3 separate regions of the Homo sapiens genome follow, and regions 1 and 2 are each linked to region 3. Evidence: promoter capture Hi-C in 16 types of primary human blood cells and fetal thymus (Javierre and others, 2016). All regions are on one chromosome and are shown on one strand. Each heading gives the region's core, a stretch centred on a gene start or on the middle of the fragment in contact. The rest is flanking DNA. Distances are from core to core; before and after follow the strand shown.

Evidence for each region. Contacts are between HindIII fragments. The CHiCAGO score rates a contact against its expected background, and 5 or more counts as called.
Region 1: a fragment that was not itself captured here is called in contact with the fragment with the promoter of GHRL in region 3 in 2 of 17 cell types (non-activated CD4 T cells and total CD4 T cells); the score reaches 5.5 in non-activated CD4 T cells.
Region 2: the fragment with the promoter of CAMK1 here is called in contact with the fragment with the promoter of GHRL in region 3 in 7 of 17 cell types (naive CD4 T cells, total CD8 T cells, monocytes and 4 more); the score reaches 7.0 in naive CD4 T cells.

Annotation. Positions count from the first base shown.
Region 1 is chr3:9,671,838-9,675,917 of GRCh38, forward strand. MTMR14 (myotubularin related protein 14) reads left to right here. Exons shown (of 19, transcript NM_001077525.3): 7 at 848-921. Among named protein-coding and RNA genes, the nearest start is that of MTMR14, 24 kb to the left of the region's middle. The HindIII fragment of the contact is 1,277 bases long and covers 755-2,031 here.
Region 2 is chr3:9,767,900-9,771,859 of GRCh38, forward strand. CAMK1 (calcium/calmodulin dependent protein kinase I) reads right to left here and starts at 2,048. Exons shown (of 12, transcript NM_003656.5): 1 at 1,933-2,048. It also overlaps a transcript of OGG1 not described here. RefSeq lists a silencer at 1,819-1,998. The HindIII fragment of the contact is 10,493 bases long and covers 700-3,960 here.
Region 3 is chr3:10,291,355-10,294,982 of GRCh38, forward strand. GHRL (ghrelin and obestatin prepropeptide) reads right to left here and starts at 1,593. Exons shown (of 6, transcript NM_016362.5): 1 at 1,488-1,593; 2 at 1-97. It overlaps GHRLOS (ghrelin opposite strand/antisense RNA), which reads left to right. Exons shown (of 6, transcript NR_073568.1): 6 at 714-2,095. RefSeq lists enhancers at 1,351-1,420, 1,431-1,680, 1,491-1,785. The HindIII fragment of the contact is 7,186 bases long and covers 1-3,305 here.

The DNA.
Region 1 (4,080 bases), core at 143-2,642, 620 kb before region 3:
TTTTTAAATGTTTTTAAATGATCCTAAAAGGTGGTCTTAGAAAATAAGGCATACTGAGGCTAACGTTAGAGCTCACCTATCTTCAGATCTGAATATTGCCTTATTCCTCCCATCCTTTATCTGTCAGAGTCCCCAGTGTTTATTTTCAGATGCTGTTTGTTCACCCTGTTCAGAAGTGGGCTCAGTGACTATTAGAGAAGACAGGAGAGCAGAAAAAAAGGGTTCCCATAGGATCATATTATTTGGCTCTCATCTCATTCCTGGGTCAGAGTGGCTACACTGTGTGCATTTTGGGGTCAGGTGGAAGGTTGTTTTCCACCTTTAGGCTCTGATTGAGGCTTGCTGTAGTATTAGAGGGGGAGTAACTTCCCTTGGTTGATATGTTGGAATAGGGGCAGAGAAGGTAGAGTTCTTTTTTTGACATGGAGCCTCACCCTGTCACCCTGGCTGGAGTGCAGTGGCACAATCTTGGCTCACTGCAACCATCTGCCTCCTGGGTTCAAGCAATTCTCCTGCTTCAGCCTCCTGAGTAGCTGGGATTACAGGAGCGCGCTGCCACACCCCACTAGTTTTTTATATTTTTGATAGAGACAATGTTTCACCATGTTGTCCAGGCTGGTCTTGACGGGGTTTCTCCATGTTGGGAACATGACCTCCAGCCGATGCACCCAGCTGAAGTTATAGTTCTTAATTGTACAAAGTAGGCACTGCTGAAGGGAATTATTAACAATGAAGAATAGTTTTTTTTAGCAGAAGCTTCATTTGTGATTATAACCCTTATTTGGGGAATGGTGTGTGTTTGTGTGTGTGTTGCGACACTGTAACACATTGTATCCTTGTCTTGTAGTGTAACCTCCTCTGAGAAGGTGGACAAAGCCCAGCGCTATGCCGACTTCACTCTCCTCTCCATCCCGTATCCAGGTAGGGGGCTCTCTTCTAGTGGCAGGCATCCTAGGACTGGGGACCTTGGGGGCCATGAGCAAGCCCTCTCTACTTAGTTACACTGGCGCCCTGGGAGCTTTCCTGGAGGGTTTGTGTCAGGCAGTGTAGGACATTTTGGTTCCCAGTCACAGGCCACACTAAGCATAGGATAGTGTCCTGGGGAAGGGGCTTTCCACTCAAGGGGTTTAGGGATTTTGTACTGTCACTGGTCCTAGCCACAGCCTTGAGTGAAGTACTTCACCCCTCCAAGCCTCAAGTTTTCTCAGGAGCTTGGAACGATTTAGCTCAGTTTTGATTTATATGAAAGTGGTCTGTGCATGAAAATACTGTTTAAGTGTAAAATGACATTATTAGTACTCTGTGTGAGCAACTACACTTGCTGCTGTAGCCTGAGTGGATGTCACCCTTTGGGTGCATGTCTTGAAGTGATTGAGTTATTTATGGAAATTGCCCCAGGCAAGGCTATTCTGGTGGTAGAAGAACACATAATTGCTATGTTCCCAGTAACTGGACAGTGGCCACACCATGTTGCAAAGCACATTGGTATCCACAAAGCTGCATTTGTTCCTGGCACATAAAAGTGTGTGCAACCTGTGGCCAGGGCTGTATTCTCTGCACTGGATATTAAAGCTGTTGGTCTAGTGTGTAGCATTCAAGTTTTCTGGCAATACCTGCCTGTTTAGTAAGGGAGGCCAAGGACCTCTAACATCAGTGCAAGATGTTGTCAGCAGACAACAGGGAGTAAATACTCTTTCTCCTTAAAACCTCTCTCCTATTTCTCAGCACCAGCATCTGCCTTCAGTGTTGTGTTGGACCTTATCTCCTCAATATTGGGGCCACATAGCCATGAGCAAGGGCAGGCAGGTTCATCTAGTGCCTTGTGGGAGGGGTGTCCTCATCATGTGCAAGCTGGGGGCAGGAATCCCAGCCCTAGCACTGTGTCTCCTTGAACAAGTCCTATAACCCTTCTGAGCATCAGTTCCCTCCTTAATAAAATGAAGATAATGGTGCTTATTTAAGAGTGAAGTGCCAGACCCCTCCATAACAGGTGTCCTGTAAATAACAGGCCTAATGATGAGTAGTTGGGAAAGCTTCAGGGAACCTCCTTTTCCCTAAAAGCAAGTTTGCGCTGATGCAGATGATGATGATGGTGGTGATGATGTTGATGATGGTGATGATGATGATGATGATAATGATGCTGGAGTGAGCTTGGCAGTATCAGACCCACACTGATGGGTGTATCCTACCTAAGGGGGTCCACACTGGAACCACTGGGTAACTCCATAGCTGGTTTTCAGACATAGTTTCCAGCTCCCAGGAGATGCTTCGGGGGTTCCACAGACTGAACTCTGCAGGTTTGCACTGCCTGAGGAACCAGGCATCACTTCGTTTAAATTTAGGTTCCAAGTAGGACTTGGTTTGGAAAAAATAGTTTTGCTAGAAGTATAAATAACATTGCTCCAAAATAGTAGCACAGTGTCCTTTCTGCTGTAGTTTGGCAACTTGTTACAGGACTCCCAAAATGTTATCACCCTTTGACCCAGGTATTTTTCTAATAATTGGTCATTAGGCTGTAATTCAGCCACTTGGTGTTGAGGACGTTCATCATGATGTCTATTTGTAATAGCAAAACAAGAAATGTTTTCACTAATCAGAATAATGATTGAATGATGGCACATCCCTCAGTAGAATGAAATATTGTATAGTCATAGAAGAATCGAAAATGGGCTGGGCATGGTGGCTCACGCCTTTAATCTCAGCACTTTGGGAGGCCTAGGCAGTAAGATTGCTTGAGCCCAGGAGTTCAAGACCAGCCTGGGAAACAGCGACACTCTGTCTCTACCAAAAATAAAAAATAGAAAATGCTTACACTTTTTGACATGGAAAACGTCACAGAGCTTAAGATAGGCAGGATACAGAATCACATAGTATACTCTCAACTAAGTAAAGGAAAATGTGCTTATAAAAAAGGCTTAAAAGGAAGTGTGCCAAAATGTTAAGATGCCTGAATGCTTTCCCCAAAGCTTTTTTTGTTATAAAAGGCATCAAAAGCCGAGTGCAGTGGCTCACGCATATAATCCCAGCACTTTGGGAGGCTGAGGCAGGCAGATCACCTGAGGTAGGGAGTTCAAGACCAGCCTGACCAACATGGAGAAACCCTATCTCTACTAAAAATACAAAATTAGCCGGGCGCGGTGGCGCATGCCTGTAATCCCAGTTATTCGGGAGGCCGAGGCAGGAGAATCGCTTGAACCCAGGAGGCGGAGGTTGCAGTGAGCCAAGATTGTGCCATTGCACTCCAGTCTGGGCAACAAGAGGGAAACTCCGTCTCAAAACAAAAATAAAAACAAAAACAAATAAAAGGCATCAAAAGAGACCAAAATTTGTATGTACTGTATCTGACAGTGTATGTGTGTTAGGGAGGGTAATGAGGATCAATAAAAATAAAAAAGCTGGAGATGGGATGAGACACCATTGCACACCCAAATAAGGGGGACAGGAGAATCACTTTTTATTTGATAGACTTGTGTTCTTGTGGGTTTTTTTACATAACTTCTATTACTTTATAATAAGAAAAAGAAATAAAATTACTATTACCCAAACCAAGTCACGAGCTGCACTTTGATGCTATTTAAGGAATCTCAGTTGAGCCCTGTGATGACTTTGAGGCTCATACAGGTACTCAGTAGTCTCAGTTCTAGATGTGTCACACTATCTTGGGCCCTTGGAAATGAGAAGTATTCTGGGATCGTTTCTTTCAGCACACCAAAATAGATGGTCCCAAATTCTGCAGCACAAATCTAATTTGTTTCCTCCTTGAGTGAATGGCACTTCTCATCCTGCTTTTGGTCCCTCTCCTCTTGCCTGACAGTGGTTCCGAAGCCTATTCAGGTAATGAACATTAGGCATTTGCCCTGAGTAGAGTCTATTTTAATTCTGTTTCTCACAAAAACTGCTTCTGCATCATAGGCGGGTCTGAGCTCAGCCTGAGGCCTGCAGTGTTGATTTGAGCAGCTAGAGTTGGGAAAACAGCACTTCACAAGAGCTCTGAGGGATAATTGCTGTCTCTTCTAAACCTGGGCTCATAACTCAGGGCCTCTGTCTGAGATCTATAATTCTTCTTTCTCCCAGTGAGGC
Region 2 (3,960 bases), core at 798-3,297, 520 kb before region 3:
CAAAATCATTCAACAAACATTCATTTGTTTATTCAACATTCAGCAAATTCTCATGCCTAGAGAAAAACCTTTCACAGTGGCAGCAAAATTCTTTATTTAACAAAGTCATGCATTCATTCATTCATTTATTCTAGTTCTCTTCCCAGTTTTCCCCCTATCCAAATCCAAGCACCTAGGGAAACCCTGACTTCTGGCAGTACAACAGATAAACCCCCAGAGCAGCTGGTAGAAGCCTGGAGGATCCCCCTGTCCCCAGAACCAGTGATGTCCCCGCCCCACCCTGGGGATTGCTGGGGTGTCTCCTTTCCCTCCTCCTTCCCCCGACTCCCCGGCCTCTCCGAAATCAGGTTTCCAGCAGCCTGGGCTTCCAGCAACATCTCAGCCACATTTTTAAATAGCTCTTTCTGCACTGTTACCACAGCAACAACAGCCACAGCTGGAGCTCCCCAGACCTCTCCCTCCTGACTCCCCATCTGGGTCCCGGGAGCATGAGAAATGGTCCTGCTCACTCTGTCCCTTCCTGGCCCCATCTAACCCTATCCAGCCTGGCCCTTCCTCTGCTGAGGTCTGTCTCATCCAGCAGGAGAGGGTGGGAGTTCTCTCCCATTTATCAGATGAAGAATGGGGAGACTGAGGTTGGAGTTAGGTAGAGGCTGGCTCCAGAGGCCCTAATGACACCTGGCCTGGGGCCCCCAGCTAAGCTTGCTGAGGGCAAAGGCCATCGAATGGCCTTGGCTGGTACTTCCAATATGAAGCCAGAATGGGCCCCATTCAGAGAACACAGCCTCCCAACCCATCCACAGATGAGGCCAAAACAGAGCCCAGCATGCTTTGTGACCTCAGGGAGAGCACTTTCCTTCTCTCTTTTTCTCTAAGGGAGAATGAGGAGAAGGTGCCCTGACTAGGGCCTCTGGTGTGAGATTCCACTCCTGGAACAGGACCTTTTTCCCAGGGGACCCTGCCCACCCATCCAGGGGCAGAATCTTCTAGGAAAGGAGACTCGAGTGTAAGCTCTAGAGGCAGAGTCTGAAACCCACATGGAGGCCTACCAAATACAACCCTCACAGATCCACACACATCCCTGTAGCAGACATGCCACACCAAGCCCCCTCCACAGCCCTGAACTCAAACACCTGCCTCCCAGATCCAGTACGCCTTGTATCCACATCCCGTGACACCTGATCATACATGTACTCCCAGACATCAGCACACATGTCCACACCACACAGTGCCCCAGACAGCCCTGCACCCGAACACCTGCCTGTCCATCCAAACATCCCTCACCCAGCTCCCTCTTACACCCCAAAACACACATCCACCCGCACCCACACAAGATGACACCCAGACACACACACACACACCCTCATATACCAGACGTACCCTACACCCTCCAGCTCCTCTACCCCATCCCCTGGAAGCTCCTGTATTCCAAACCAAACCCCAAGTCCTTACACACCTAACTCCAAACATCCTCAGTACACAATTGTACACCCCCTCCTAACTCTGACTTAAGACCCTGAGAGCCAAATACCAGCACACAAAACACGTGGACACCCCTCTGGAACAAAAAACACACAGATTCCCAGATCCTCCACCCATGTCTGACCCACACGCCTGTCCTAAGACAGTACACTCCGCAAGCCCCCCCACCCCATGGATACCTCCAAATGCCCACGCCCTTCCAGTCAGGCCCAGCTGAAGGCGCTCACACAGGCCCCCTTCTCTATTACCCACTCAGTGTCCCATAGGCCCGCCTGGCACCTGCTGGGCCTGGGACAGAGGTGGAGAAAGGCCCAGCCCTGCCCCTCAGGGTCCAGCCCGCCCGGGAGAGTGCCCAGTGGCCACTCCTTGGGAAAGGATACCCAGAGGCTAGGGGCTCCCACCGCCCCCACGCAGCGCCCAGGGGTGCAGGGATGGGGGGCCCGGCTGTACCTGCGGCTGCCCCGCCGCGGGGCTGGCTGGGAGGCCCGCGGTGGTTGGCGCCGAGCTGTGGCCGCGGTCCTCACCGCTGCGTGCCTGGGCCACCCGCCCGCGCTCTTGCTGGAGCTGGGGCTCGGCTCGGCTCGGCGGCTCTCTCCGCCCGCCTGCGGCTCTGATGTCAGTGGAGGTGGAGCCTGCGGCGGAGGGACCCGGGATTGGGAGGCGAGGCACCGCTCCAAGGCTGGGGAAGGGGCACGGGTGGAGGCCATCTCCCTGCTTCTGGTCAGAGATCTCCTGCTGGACGCTTCCCGCCCTTGGTCTTAAGCGGGGTCCATTTCACAGAGGGGACAACTGAGGCCCGGAGAGATGATTTTCAAATCAGCGGGTGGTCGGAAGCAAAGCAGGATTCGAACCCCGTCTGTCTGAAGCTAGAGGCCGGCCAAACTCACCCTGTGGCCTGGTGGATTTTCTTTCAGACCAGTTCTGCGACCTCCCTTAGGGCTCTGTCTCCCTTCTCCGTGCCCTGAAGGGAAACAGGCCCTGGAACTGCACGGGAGTCTGGTGGGGGATGGGGGAGTGAGGGAGTGGGGAAGGACCGGGCAAGACTAGGCAATGAAGAGAGTGGAGGTGGTCGCAGGGTGTGGGCCCCACTTGACAGGTGGGAAGACTGAGGCCCCGGTTCCTCTGCAAGATGGAGCTGAGGCTTCAGCCCCAGACACTTGCTCCTCAGAGCGGGTGGTGGTGCCTAGAGGTATTGGGGGCAGAGGGAATTGGGGAGGAGGAAGTTAAATCGGGATCCTGAAGGAAACAGGCCAAAAAGGACCGAGGTGTCACGTGACTGGCGGGGCTCCAGAGTTTGATGGCTGGGGTCCAGGTTAGGGGAGAGAGCCTGCAACTAGGACGGCAGGCAAGAGGCCAAAGGTCGGTTTGCTCAAGGCCTTCCTTGGGAAGAAATTTGGTGCCGAGTGGAAAGAGGGGGCGGGGGGAGCAACTCGCAGGAATTGGGGATGGGGCTGAACTGGGGGCAGCCGGAGGAGGCACGTTGCTTGGGACCCCACTCCACCTCCAAGGGCCTCCAAGTGCCACTCCCTACTCCTGAATTCTTGCATGTTCCAGCTGGTGATGGGGAGAGAACAGTGCTTATGCCCAGCTCATTTCCTTTTTCTCTTTCTTTCTTTCTTTTTTCTTTCTTTCTCTTCTTCTTTTTTTCTTTTTCTTTTTTTTTTAAGACAGGGTCTTGCTCTGTCACCCAGGCTGGAGTGCAATGGCATGATCACGGCCCACTGCAGCCTCAAACTCCTGGGCTCAAGTCATCTTCCTACCTCAGCCTCCCATGTAGATGGGACTACAGGTGCGTGCCACCACACCTGGCTTTTTTATTTTTTGTAGAGATGGGGATCTCACTATATTGCCCAGGCTGGTCTCAAACTCCTGGGCTCAAGCAATCCTCCCCAATCAGCTTCCCAAGGTTCTGGAATTACAGGCATGAGCCACTGCACCTGGCCAATTTATTATGCCCATCTTACAGATGAGAGAGGAAGATAGCTGAGGTTCCTGGAAAGGCTTTGGAGTCTAACTGATCCTGGTCATGCTTTACCTCTCCGAACCTCAGTTTCTTACTCGGGAACATGGGAATATTGAAGATTGACTCAGAGTTCTGAGAATTCTATGATATAATGATATGAAGTGCCTAGAACACTATTCAAAACATGAGAGCTAGACTCAGTGTAAACTGAGACTCAGAGAGAGGACTTGATTTGGCCAGGGATGAGGGGTTAAGGGATCCATCTTCCAAATCTCAGTATCTCAGACTCCTTAGTTCATGGAAAAATACATTTCCTGCTCAGGGCTGAGCCCCCACTCTCCCCTATACCCACCAAGCACACCCACTGAGCTAGGGGTTCTTTTACCACAAATTCCTGTTCATCTTGATGACAACACCCCCTGGGTGATAAGATGACCTCTGTCCTTTCGAGGACTTGTACAACTTCTTTTTTTTTTTTTTTTTTTTTTTTTTGAGACAGTCTCCCTCTGTTGCCC
Region 3 (3,628 bases), core at 343-2,842:
CTGGCGTTTTTTCACATAGCAGCTTGCCTTGCCTCCCTCCAGCAGCTTTGGTCCCTATTTTAGCGGATGCCTCTTCTGAGAGGGAAGTGCATTGGACCTGGAGGTGGAAGATCTACGCTTAGCACGGGCCTGGCTCCTCTCTCATTGACTGGCCTTACGCCGACCACAAATAATTCCCCTTACCCAGAGTCTTTGAGGGTGAAATGAGGCGATGGGGGGAAAGTGGCTTCTAACCTGTGAAACACCCTGCAGATGACAATGGTTTCATACCAGGCCCATAGGACTTCCCAGCATAGGCCAAGGCCACTGCCTCATTTCCCTCGGCCCCAGGAATTTCTTCCTTTCTGGAGTGCTTCATCCAACTGGGTGCCCAGGCAGGAACCCCTAAGGGCCAATGAGTTGTCTGCAGAGAAGTTCTAGCAGTTCAGGAGAGGAGCTCACCTTAGGCTGGGGCTTGCGGCAGGGATGTTAGCAAAGGCTCCAGGAAAGAGGCCTGTGGTGAACTCGGGGCAGGGCTTTGGAGGGAGGGCTTTGCGGCAAGCAGAGGGGAGGTGAAGGCGTGGGTAGAGTACATCAGGGCAGCATGGAGAAGGCTGGGTGGCTTGGGGGAGGGTGGCGATGGGGTCATAACAAAAACATAAGAAGGTGGTTTGGGGCCAGGTGATGGATGCCTTGGGAACTGCTAGCCCAAGAAGTTTGGGCTTTTTTTGCAGGAGGGCAGCCACTGAGGATTCTTGAGGAGAGAGAGACCATAGAATGAATGAAAGAGTTGGAAAGACTTTAAAGCTCTGGGAGGCTGAATCCTTTATTTCGCTGGAAGAAAAACTGAATGCCAAGAGGGCCTCACTTTCCCCAAAGCTATACAGCCATCAGGGGCAATGCTGGGATTCCCCCATGGATCTCTTGACTCCTAATACAGTGCTCTTTCTGATATGCCATCTGGCTCCATAATGAACATTGTGTTCCAGGAAAATCAGTCTGCGCTGAACAGGATGGAATTGGGGCAGGACGTCCAGTGAGGAGGACATTGAGGCAGTAGAGCAGTTGATTGCCGAATGACCACCTACCCTGACTTAAAAGATCAACCTCAGGGAGGATTGGAGCTTTCTAGAGTCTCTTGGGACAGCAGAAGCACAGGCCGGGTTGGACTGAATCTTTAAGTGGACATGAGGGACAAAGTACCTCCTGTTGGTAAACATCTCACCACCAACCCACTGTGGTGGCTAAAATCCCACCTTTAGTCCCAGCAACATATGAGCATGTCACCAGGAGGTCTTCACAGGCCTGTCTGCCACCTGAGTGTAGACATCTTTTGGCCCTGGAGCCCAGAGAGGCTGAATGTGGAGAGGGTGGAGAGAGGTCTGTAGTCCTCAGAGAAGACTTGCAGCTTTTTCAGAGCCACCAACCCATAAAAAAAAAAATCCCCAAACAGAAAAATCCTAACTGTGGTGACCAGGTACCTCCTGAGACATGAAGCCTCCACTTACCTGGACCCTGGAGGCCTCTCCGGGCACAGCTGCCAATGTTGATCTTAGATAAGACCACCAGCAAGTAAACATCCACTGTGCAAAGCTGTGTTATCTTTGGGGAACTGAAATGTCCCCTGGGAGTTGGAAACTCCCCTAGCCACATACCACAGAGTTGAGGAAGGAAGAGCTGATGGACGGAAGAACCATGGCGGGAGGAGTCATCCGGAAGCTACCTCGCTGCCCTGTCAGTTACGGAACAGAGGAGAGATGCCGGCTGGAGGACACAGCAAATTTGAACCAAGAGGAGCTTGGAGGAAGCCCGAGCGACCTGGAGGGGACTGGCTGACCTTCCTCATTCTTTTCAAGTGTGAATAATAACCAAGCCCAGTTTGGCAACTCCTTGAGGGTGAGGACGAAGCCCCATTCTCCTTTTTGGAACTTGGTGGGGCTCAGGAAGCAGGTTCTCTCCAGTCGGTGGCTTTCCTTTCTGTTGCGGGTCTCTTGAGGGCCTGCCTTCATGAAGGCACATGAGTGACTCATCATTTGTGAATTAATTGCTATATGTGAAGGGCATCTGAGAACAAATTATCTTCATAGACTTTTCATTATAATTTTATTTGTACTGATAATTAGTTGGTTTAGCAAGCTCTTTTTTCATAGATTTGGCTAAACTTCAGTCTGAAAGAGGCAAATTCTGGGGTTCTAGAAAGAGATTTTATTCTTTGATATAGGGCTATTTGGTGGGGTTGCTTTTTGTCCTAGTTGTAGCTTTTATAATTTCGAGATTCACATTTTGCAATAGAAATATACAGGCATACCTTGGAGGCATTACAGCTTTGGTCCCAGACCACAATGAAGCAAGTCACACGAATTTTGTTGGTTTCCCAGTAAATATAAAACGTATGCTGATACCATACTATAGTCTAAGTGTGCAACAGCATATGTCTAAATGAATATACATATATATTTTTTTGAGACAGGTTCTTGCTCTGTCACCCAGGCTGGAGTGCAGTGGCACTATCATGGCTCACTGCAGCCTCCACCTCCCTGGACTAAGATGATCCTCCCACCTCAGGCTCCCAAGTAGCTGGGACTACAGGTCACACCACCACACCCAGTTAATTTTTGTATTTTTTGTAGAGACAGAGTCTTGACATGTTGCCTAGGCTGGTCTTGAACTCCTGGCTTAAGTGATCTGCCTGACTTTGCCTCCCAAAGTGCTGGGATTACAGATGTGTAGTCTTTGAAATCCAGTGTGTGTTCTTACAGTGCATTTCAATTTGGACTAGCCATGTTTCAAATGCTCAGCAGCCACATGCGGCTCATTCTAGATAGGCGGCCATCGCTCTTAAATCCTCCCTGACCTTAGCCATGCTCTCTCATCCCTCCTCTTCGCCAAGCTCTGCCTCTCTCACTGGGGCTTCCCTAGCCTCCGGCCATCTTGGGGCCAAAGCTCTAACACTTTGCCTCTCTCGTGTCTTCTGTTCCCCTCCAGTGGCTTCTGCTTTCTGCCTTAAAATACACCCAGGTTCCTAATCCTGAAAACGTCTGTTGTGCACCGATCCCACCCTCCCCTCGTGTTACCATCTCCATTTCCTTCCCCTTTCCTTGTGTCCTCTTCTTTGCTGTGTCCTGGCCCCTCAAAACTTGACCTTGCCTCTCATCCCCACTGCTGTACTGAAACTGTTGTCTCAGCGTTGCTGATCATCCAGCCTTTTAGTCTATGGACCGCTAAGAGCCATAGGACGACCTCAGGGTGGGACGTGGCTTGGAGGGCCATCTCGTCTCAATTTCCAGATACAGACCTGTGTTGGGTTGTGTTGGATTCATGAGGAAAGCTTCATAAGTTTTATGCACGTTTATAAGACTCCATCCTTGGATTCTGATCCAGTAGCTCTGGCGTGGGGGCTTTAGAATCTGTTTCAAGTATCTCAGGTAATTTTGATTATAAATTACCAAGTATCCCAGGTAAATTTTGATTATAAATGCTTGCTTCCAGCAGAAAATATAAACATATGGAAGATGAAATCTTTCTCTCTGAATAACCCAATTCAGTTTCCACTCGTGAATATCTTATATAACCGTAGTACATTTATCAAAATTAAAACACCAGTGTTAGCACATTACTGTTAATCTCCAGACTATTTGTAAGTCACCAA